Linked DNA regions of Homo sapiens: region 2 is linked to region 1. The links are contacts of gene promoters, found by promoter capture Hi-C in human tissues and cell types (Jung and others, 2019). All regions are on one chromosome and are shown on one strand. The core of a region is centred on a gene start or on the middle of the fragment in contact, and the rest is flanking DNA. Distances in the headings are between cores, read along the strand shown.

The links. The method cuts DNA at HindIII sites, captures the fragments that hold promoters and counts their contacts. A contact is called where the count stands out against the background at its distance.
Region 2: a fragment that was not itself captured here is called in contact with the fragment with the promoter of SNX13 in region 1 in 1 of the 25 tissues and cell types used here (hippocampus).

Annotation. Positions count from the first base shown.
Region 1 is chr7:17,938,292-17,942,746 of GRCh38, reverse strand. SNX13 (sorting nexin 13) reads left to right here and starts at 2,253. Exons shown (of 26, transcript NM_015132.5): 1 at 2,253-2,463. The coding sequence starts at 2,452. The HindIII fragment of the contact is 14,565 bases long and covers 1-4,455 here.
Region 2 is chr7:17,689,723-17,694,177 of GRCh38, reverse strand. No RefSeq gene overlaps it. Among named protein-coding and RNA genes, the nearest start is that of LINC02889, 130 kb to the right of the region's middle. The HindIII fragment of the contact is 6,266 bases long and covers 1-4,455 here.

The DNA of each region.
Region 1 (4,455 bases), core at 1,004-3,503:
TCTTGTGGAGCTTACATTCTAGCGGAGGGAAGGCAATAGAAAATAAAAATAGAAAATGACGATGTTAGAAGGTTAGAAGGTAAGTACTATGAAAAAAACAGAAGCAAGGAAGGGAGGATTCTGGGGAAGGGGCAATATTTTAAATGAGATGATTAGGGTAGGCTTCTTTGAAAAAAGATGACTTTTAAGCAAAGATTGGACAGAAGTGGAAGATCTAGCCATGCAGGTATTTGGTGGAAAGATCTTTGCAGATAGAAACTATACACAGTGTAAGGGCCTCAGGGCAAGAAGATGCCTTGGTGTTACAGAAGCAGGGAGCAGGTCTGTGTAACTGGAACAAAGTGCTTAGCAGAAATGAGGTCAGAGGGGTGGAGGTGAGGTAGGACTTGGGAGGCCAGCTAGCATAGGATTTTTAGGTTGCAGAAAAGACTCAGGCTGAGAAAATTAGGAAGCCATTGGAAGAGCGACTACTTTTGGTTTCCTTGTAAGTCTGTAGACAAACTTCTGAAAGTTAAAGGCATATTCATGTCATATCACAGATTGGTTCAATACTCAAGTGTCAACACTTAATGCCTTGCTTCTAGAAAAGATAAAAAGATGTAGTAAATAAAACTGAATACTCAAGCCAGACAACTACATTGCTGTTTTAATTTACTAGCTGGTATCTTAAATATTAATGAACCTCCTTCTCTGTTTTCTTATTTACAGGTTGGAACACTATCTTTTTCCAGGTTCCTTGTTGTCTCTAGTATCTCTTGGTATCCTTTGATACCTCAGTCCAGGTAGGATTTCCATGCTCATTTTCTATTTGTGGCTTCATCTGTCAATACCAGTAACACATTTTATTGTATTGCAGAGGTCAGAATTTTGCTGGTCCAGCAATGTGGAAATGATGTACAAAATGCAGATTAAAACAACAAGAAAAACTACTTTGCTTCAATTAGTTGAATTGAGCAAAATCAGTTTTTCTTGAATTTTTTGCATGACTGCTTAAATGAACCGTTTTGTTTCCTTGACACGATAGAGATAATACAAGGTTTGCAATGCCCTTATTGTTTTGAGACTGTAAGAGTAATACATTAAGTAAATTTCATTTAGCACAACAGTACTATTGTTAAATGGAGGGAAAAGATTCTGGTAAAAGGGAAGAAACTCCTGGCTTTAGTTTTCTAAAATGCTTTTGTACCTCTTGTAAGAATGACATGGAGGTGTTTTTAATGTCAAGTCTGAAAATTTGCTTTTCAATTTACTTGGAAACTGGTTTCTAATACAAAACAGGGTAGCACACTTTCCCAGCATGTTCAGGTAAACTACTTTCATCACAATTCAGGTAGAAGTGACTGCCTTTAATTCCGTACATCGCAAACCATCTAGTGGTAGATCTAGAATGGCGTCAGTCTCAGGGACTTCTATGCACATTGAGTTCCAGAGTTCAATTCCATTTAAGTTGGGACTATTTACAATGACATTTGCTGAAATTTGCTCACCTTGATATACAAGCATATTGTATTAAGCAGCTAGTAAACCTGTGGAGATAGCAGGTAAAACGTAAAGCCTGTTTTACGTTTTTTTAGAGGTGCATTACTTGTAGCATAACTAAACCTTCATTGTTAGGCAGGTGCTGGCCAATTACATCAGCAAGTCCTAACTCCGCTAGGATCGGGGTAAAGCCGATAAGCCGCATCATATCTACAACCTGTCTCGGACCCCTGTAAAGAACTCACTGAGGATTGGTAGGGACAAAGGGAAGTTTCTGTCAAAGTTTAGGAGAAAAGGGCCGCGCAGGGAGCTGTTTCAAATAACACTTAAATCCCAGGAGAAGAAAGCCGAACCCCAACTCTTCGGTCGCCGCGGGGCCAGGGAGACGCGAGAGGGAAGTTTTTCTAAAGGAAATCTGCCGCCTTGTCCCCAAGACCAGCGAGGTCCGCAGCGCCATCAGTCAAGTGTCGGCCTCTGGCATTTTCTCCTCTCCCCAGGGCGGGCCAACGCTAGTGGGCGGTGGATGATGCGCCGGCCCCAAGGGCGCGCACGTCCATTCCCGGAAGGCTCGGGCGCTGGGGCCCCTCTGCACTCCCAGCGGTCCCAAGTTGGCCCAGGCGCCCGGTCCCGGGGTCCTACAAGTCAGCGCCAAGCCGACTGCCGACAGCCTACCTCCGCTTCTCCGCGCGCCGGCGCTATGGAGACGGTCACGAGACGCCAGCAGCCCCTGCGCCCGCCAATGGGAACGCACGTTGCAGCGAGACGCGGACGTCGCTCTTCCAAGATGGCGGCGCGTCCGTCGCGAGCGACCGGGCCGAGGGGAGGCCAGCGAAGCCGAGTAAAACCGCCGCCCGGGAGAAGACTGAAGGAGCAGTTGCCGCCGTTGGCGGCGGCCCGAGCAGTTTTCGCTGCTGCTACGGCTGTTGCCATGAGGCGAGGCTAGGGAGGACCTCACTTCCCCGGGGTGTAATAATGTTAACTGAGGTAAGCGGCGACGGTGGCCAGTGTTTACCTGTGAAATGGGGAAGGGGCCGGCGCCAGCCCGTCAGAGAACATCATCTGTACGGAAGGTGGGCCTGACCCTTCGCCGTGGGCTCCAGGGCCCGAGGAGCAGCGGGGATCCTACAAGTGCCCTCAGAGTAGGAGCTGTGCTGACTCAACAGAGTCCCACCACCTCCGGCTGCCAGTGCCTCGCCTTTCGCAGTTGCCACTTGCCACTCGCCCCTGGCACTGGTCTCCCTCCTGCTGTCACTCCCTTCTAACTCATCGCTCCCTTCTTCGTGTCCCCTTACACGCTACTCTGTGGCAGCGTTGGCCTTTCCACGTTACTGCTGGTTCTTGTGATCCTATGGTTTGCCCTAGGTCTCCTTTCTCTGGTCCCTGGGCTCCAGGGCCCTCCGCCTCCGAGCTCGGTCAGCACCCTGGGGTTGTTGCTCGGCCCGACCGGTTTGTTTCCCACCCTCTACTTTGACTGCTTCATGAAGTGGACTTTTTTATCTCAAGCTGCACATGTATGGCTCAGTTGGGTCATCCCCCTCCCCCACATCCATCACCTTTTCGGTTAAATCGTGGTCATCACAAAGTTCAGTTTAGCATCTGCCACCTTGATTTGCGTGTGGCCCCCTTGTTACTCCCTATGGAATAGTTTTTTTCTTTGGACCTGAAATGGAAGTAGGGCAACTATGACGAACCAATCAATTTCCCTTTTCTAGTGCCTAATGGGCATTGCAAAAAGCCGACTTTTTGAAGAAGTAGAGTTTGCCTTTACTAGCAACACTTTAAGGGGAAGAACTAAATCGGTGCAACTAGGTACTTGACCCAGGTTAGCCCAGTTATGTGTTGTAGTATCTGCAGGTGTAGGTGTCACTGAACATAAAATACTGAACCTTGTGATTTGATGAAATACCTTTTTCGAAGCCTTTCACTTTAAGTACTGTGAGGATCCTGACGTGAGGAACTGACCGGATTGGGCATTTTTATGGGCTGAACTGAATAGGAAACAGTTTTAGTGGGCAATGGGAAGTATTCCTACATGGGCCAAAAAGGAAATACAAACATTTGTAGGTGAGTGGCTTTTATTTTGTGAAAAGTGATGGTAAAGCACGTACTTGCCTGAAATTTCAGGTCCTTGGAACGTGACTAACTTTGAGGAACTTTATACTTTGCTGTTTGTACTTAATCTAAGCACAGAGCCTGGCATATGATAAATACTTACTGGTTGATTGTAACTTCTACAGTACGTATTTTTAGTTGTTTGAAGTTCATTTTATATTTCTAAATTCTACAGATTTTTCATTCTTGGAGTTAATTGAGATTATGGTTATAGCATAAGTTTGTGTTGTGATTAGCAGTAATAGATTAGAAAAAAGAGTTATAAGTAGCAGAAGTTTCATTTTTACCTTAAGTGTGATATTTTAGTGGGAACAGTTAGCCTTATAATAAGTGTTTAGTGTTGTCTCTAATGTGTAATATTATATGATATGATCTTTTCCTTAAACTTAGCTTATGTTAACATGTTTCAGAGTTTTAATACTTTCAAATGAACTACTTGTGTGTCTGCCAGTAAAATGATTTGGAAAGATGGAGCTTTCTCAGCTTCTGTATTTTAATGCAATTTTGCGTTTTAGGGAAATATTTTAAACAGTAAATCAATGATAATATTAAGTAAACTGTACTTTAGTACTTTTTGTGTGAACACTGCACAACTTATAAGTGGCAGAAGCAGGATTCCAACCTTGGCAGTTGCCACCTAGCCCATTCTGTTAACTTTTCTAGATTGCCTCGCCAAAGTAAGACCCAGATTAAATTGTACTAAAGTCTTCCCTATAGTTTTCAGTAGTCGTTTATAGATTAGGAAACTGAAGCCAGAGACTCTTGTCCAAGGTCAATTATTAAATATTAGTGACAGTCGAAACTGGAATCTCATCTCCTAACTCTCAGTAGAGAGCTCTGACCGTTTTGCTCAGCTGCCTCTCA
Region 2 (4,455 bases), core at 558-3,057, 250 kb after region 1:
GATGTATAGGCTGATACTATTTTGAAATATTGATATACTTTCTCTTATGTACACCACGGTAGAAAACCTTTCTCAAGTCAACCAAGTACCGTATTACCTTGGTGAGGCTAAGTTTCTAGAGATGTTTAAGAATAATAAAGGATCGGTCCAGCACAGTGGCTCAAGTCTGTAATCCCAGCACTTTGGGAGGCCGAGGCGGGTGGATCACCAGGTCAGGAGATCGAGACCATCCTGGCTAACACGGTGAAACCCTGTCTCTACTAAAAATACAAAAAATTAGCCAGGTGTGGTGGCGGGCGCCTGTAGTCCCAGCTACTTGGGAGGCTGAGGCAGGAGAATGGCGTGAACCCGGGAGGCAGAGCTTGCAGTGAGCCGAGATTGCACCACCGCACTCCAGCCTGGGTGCCAGAGCGAGACTCCGTCTCAAAAAAAAAAAAAAAAAAAGAGTAATAAAGGATCATTGTTCAGCCTTGACAAGACAGGCAATAAGACCAAAATTATTCCCAGAGGCAATAGTTATTAAAGCTAAAGCTTTCTATTTGAAAAAAAAGTTTTTGAGTATGTTTTTGAAAAATTTTACAAATACATAAAAACTTGTAAATGAATGTTCATAGCAGGATTTTTCATCTTATCTAAAAGGTGGAAACAATCTAAATGTCATCCATGGATGGATGGATAAGCACAATGTGGTATGTTCATACAGTGGAATGTTATTTAGCCATCAAAGGCATAAAGTACTGACACGTGCTACAATGGGGGTGAACGTTGAAAACAAAAGTGAAAACAGCCAGATATAAAAGGCCACATTTTGTATGATTCCACTCACATGAAATGTCCAGACAAGGTAAATCCATAGACAAAATATAGATTATTGGTTGCCACAGCTGGGAAAAGGAGGGAATTGAGGTGATTACTAATGGTTAAAGGGTTTCTCTCAGGTAATGAAGAGGTTCTCGAGTTAGTGGATATGGCTGCACAAGTGAATATACTAAAAAAAAAATCGCTGAATTGTACACCTTAAAAGAGTAAACTTTTATGGCAAATGAACTATATTTCAGTAGTGATAACACCAAAACAGCAGCAACAGCTACAACAACAAACTTGAAAAGAGAATATGGGAAGAGTTAGGCTAAAGGTTTCAATGACCTCCTGGGCTGGAAGACTTTTGCACCCCAACTTTGCAGAAGGAGATCAGTTTGAAAGATTGCTCACGTCTTCATGATGAAGCATTGTGAGATCCAAGCCGACTTTGGTGGAGGATTTGTTCTTGAGAGGGAGCAGAGAGGAAACAGCGGAGGTTACTCAGCAACAGGTACCTTCAAATCCCACTTGTATTTGGGACCAGAAAGATCCTTGCTTTTGCTTCAAGGCTTTGCTCAGTCCATCCAAAAATTCCCCACCTTTAAAAGACTGGGCAATTGAAAGTGACCACCTCTGAATTAGAAACAAATGAAATGAGCAGAATAAGGTTCATGGAGCTATAGATGCCAGAGAGCATAGAAGTAGTCTGCAAAGGAAAGTCCTAGATGTCAGCGGGGCCTAGTGTAATCTGCTTGATATCTTCTCCCTACTCTGAGGCATGAGAGGGATGAGACCTATCTCCAGGTTGTCACCTTATAACTTACATTGTGGGAGGCCATTCTTCTGCTGCACTGTTGCTCTTGTGGTCAGTTGTGTTGATGCTATGAGTTCTGCTTCTGGTTTTTCCAAGAACACCACTCCTTTGATCTTAGCCTTCACCCTCTGTAGCTTTGGGGCCTAGTGGAAAGAGATGGCTTTAGAAATCAGAAATACTGATTGTAAAACAACCTCTGCTTATCCGTGATACCTACACTGGAGTCTACCAACCACAGTGTTGCAAATGCATTGTGGTGGTGCTTCAAACTGTGGATCTCTCTAACCCTTGGGGTCATTCAGAAACTGGGTGGCTGAGACTCCCAGGAACAGCACCTTTGGCTGTTAGCTGGCTTGCTCAGGGTGCCTCAGAGGGCAAACCTAGCAGGGTGAGGCCTGCACAATACCAGTTGGTGAGCACTGTTAGCTACATCAGCACTCATGGCTCCCCGTCAACACTGTGCACTGCCAACAGGAGCTCTGACACCAGGATGTCTCCAGCAGCCAGGGACAGGCAGAACCATGCCCATATTGTGGAAATGTGGCCGATGGTTTGTAGGGGGCAGGGAAGGGACATGTTCCCAGTGTCCAGATATGCCCAGAGTTTGGCCAAGGTGTGGACAGTTAGGAGTTGGATGTGGTGCTGGGGGAGGGATTCTGGCTGGGGACTCCTGAGGGCACTGACCCACATGGCAGTCTCCCATTTTTCTCTTCGTATGTATATATATAATAATTCTGTCCCAATTTGGTTGATGCGCTATTTTTATAAGATTCCAATTCATAGGACGATGATTCTTTCTTTTGAGATGGAGTCTCGCTCTTTCACCCGGGCTGGAGTGCAGTGGCACCATCTCGGCCCACTGCAATCTCTGCCTCCCAGGTTCAAACAGTTTTCATACCTCAGCCTCCTGAGTAGCTGGGATTAACAGGCATGTGCCTCCATGCCTGGCTAATTTTTGTATTTTTAGTAGAGATGGGGTTTCACCATGTTGTCCAGGTTGGTCTTGAACTCCTTGGCCCCCAAAGTGCTGGGACTACAGGCGTGATCCACTGCACCCCACCCATAGAAGGATGGTTCTTCTAACAACACCTGCAGCTTTTGCAGATTAGAACTTCATTGTTATCTGGAAATATTTGATATAAAAATTCTATTAAAGCCAAAGTCCATTTGCCTTATTTTGATCAAATTAATATTACTCTTGTCCATGAAAGAAAGGAAGAATTGTACCAAAACATACTGTTCCCAAATGACCAGTTTTGACGTGTGCCCTACTGTCGAAAGGGATGTGAGGAAAGAGAAAGTTCCAGACTTTCTGAGCCTCAATTTTCTCACCTGCAAAATAAACATAATAATTCATAACTAATTTAGGCTAGTGCTCAAGGGTGAATCTATTCTCCTTTCCATGCCCTAAAATATTTAGGTTTTTTGATTAAGACATAAAAAAATTCAGAATTTCATAAAACAGGAATCTGGTAGGAGTTTTTTCAACTAAGTCCTTTTTATTTTATACTTAAGGTAACATGAATTAAGAGCAGGCATTGCTCATAGTGGTTTCTCAGCCTTCTGCTGGTGAAGTTTTCACCTCTTCGTTTTACATGTTGAAACAGTGTAAATCTGTCAACCCTACAATCTTGGGAGGCAGACATGGAGATATCCGCAGGCCAGCTCCAGGTATAGGGTCTGTTTCCTGCTTCCCCCCAGGGTAAGGTGTCCACCTTCTTCCTTTGTACTCAGGTTAATCTACAGTGATGGTATCTTGTTATAAATGCTTCACTTTCTCATTTGGTCCTCCTCTGAGCCATGTGCTTGGTAAAACTATCACAACACAGGACAAAACAAAGACTGAAGCAATCACATACTTTCTACTCCTCCTTTGATTTATTTTATATAAATTATCTCTTGGGACTGGAATGGTCCAAGCCTTGGGATTCTGTGTATTCAGGTCATGTCAAGTTCACTCGTTCCCCATACAAAGGGAGAATTGTCAAATGGCAGAAAGCTAAGAAGCCTTGACCTACAAGGACATACACATACAAGGATTCTGTGACAGACCATCTTGCTGGGAACAACATTGCAGGGTTATGATGAGAATCAAATGTGGTTATATGTATTAGGGGGCTGGAAGAGGCATGCCCTTCTCTGGGCATTGTAACTCTCCCGCCCTGAACCCAGAGGAGAGAAGAGGTTATAGACCACAACGAGAAGCTTGTTTTCCTACCTAAAAAATGGTTCCCTTTTCTGAGGACTACTCAAGCAGAATGGCTGGTGTAATGAGAAGGAATGTTACCACAATGCTGACTCATGGCCTCAGGTCACCCGTCAGAGTGTGCAGCATGAGGACAACCAGACAGATTCAGCCAGAAACACCCACCATGCTAGTGGTGCTCAGGGCCAAGAATAACTCTAGAAAAGACTTGCTAAACCACACGCCCTATTCTGGTCTTTCTACCCTACAGGTGGTTTCATCAGCTCTAGAAACTTACAGTAGTCTCAGGGGACACAGGAGTGGGAGCTTGAGGGAAAGTCTTTCAATGGAGCAAAGTAAGAGTGTTAAAGAATGTAAATATTCCTGCTTAAATCTTGGAATCACACACCAGCAAGAATCACCTTAAGTACATTAATACTTACTAATGCATAAAAGGTTTATTCTAATTTACCCACGTTTCTTCCAAGGAGATAATTTTTTAGGTGTTGACATTGTTCCAAATTAGCCTGGAGCTGTGTTTGTAGTCACTATTTCATCAAGATAAAACAGACGATAATAGTCTCAGTAACCGAATCAAAACTTATCATCTTGAATTTGGATGATGGACAGGAGTTTCATCATGCATGTTAGTGCT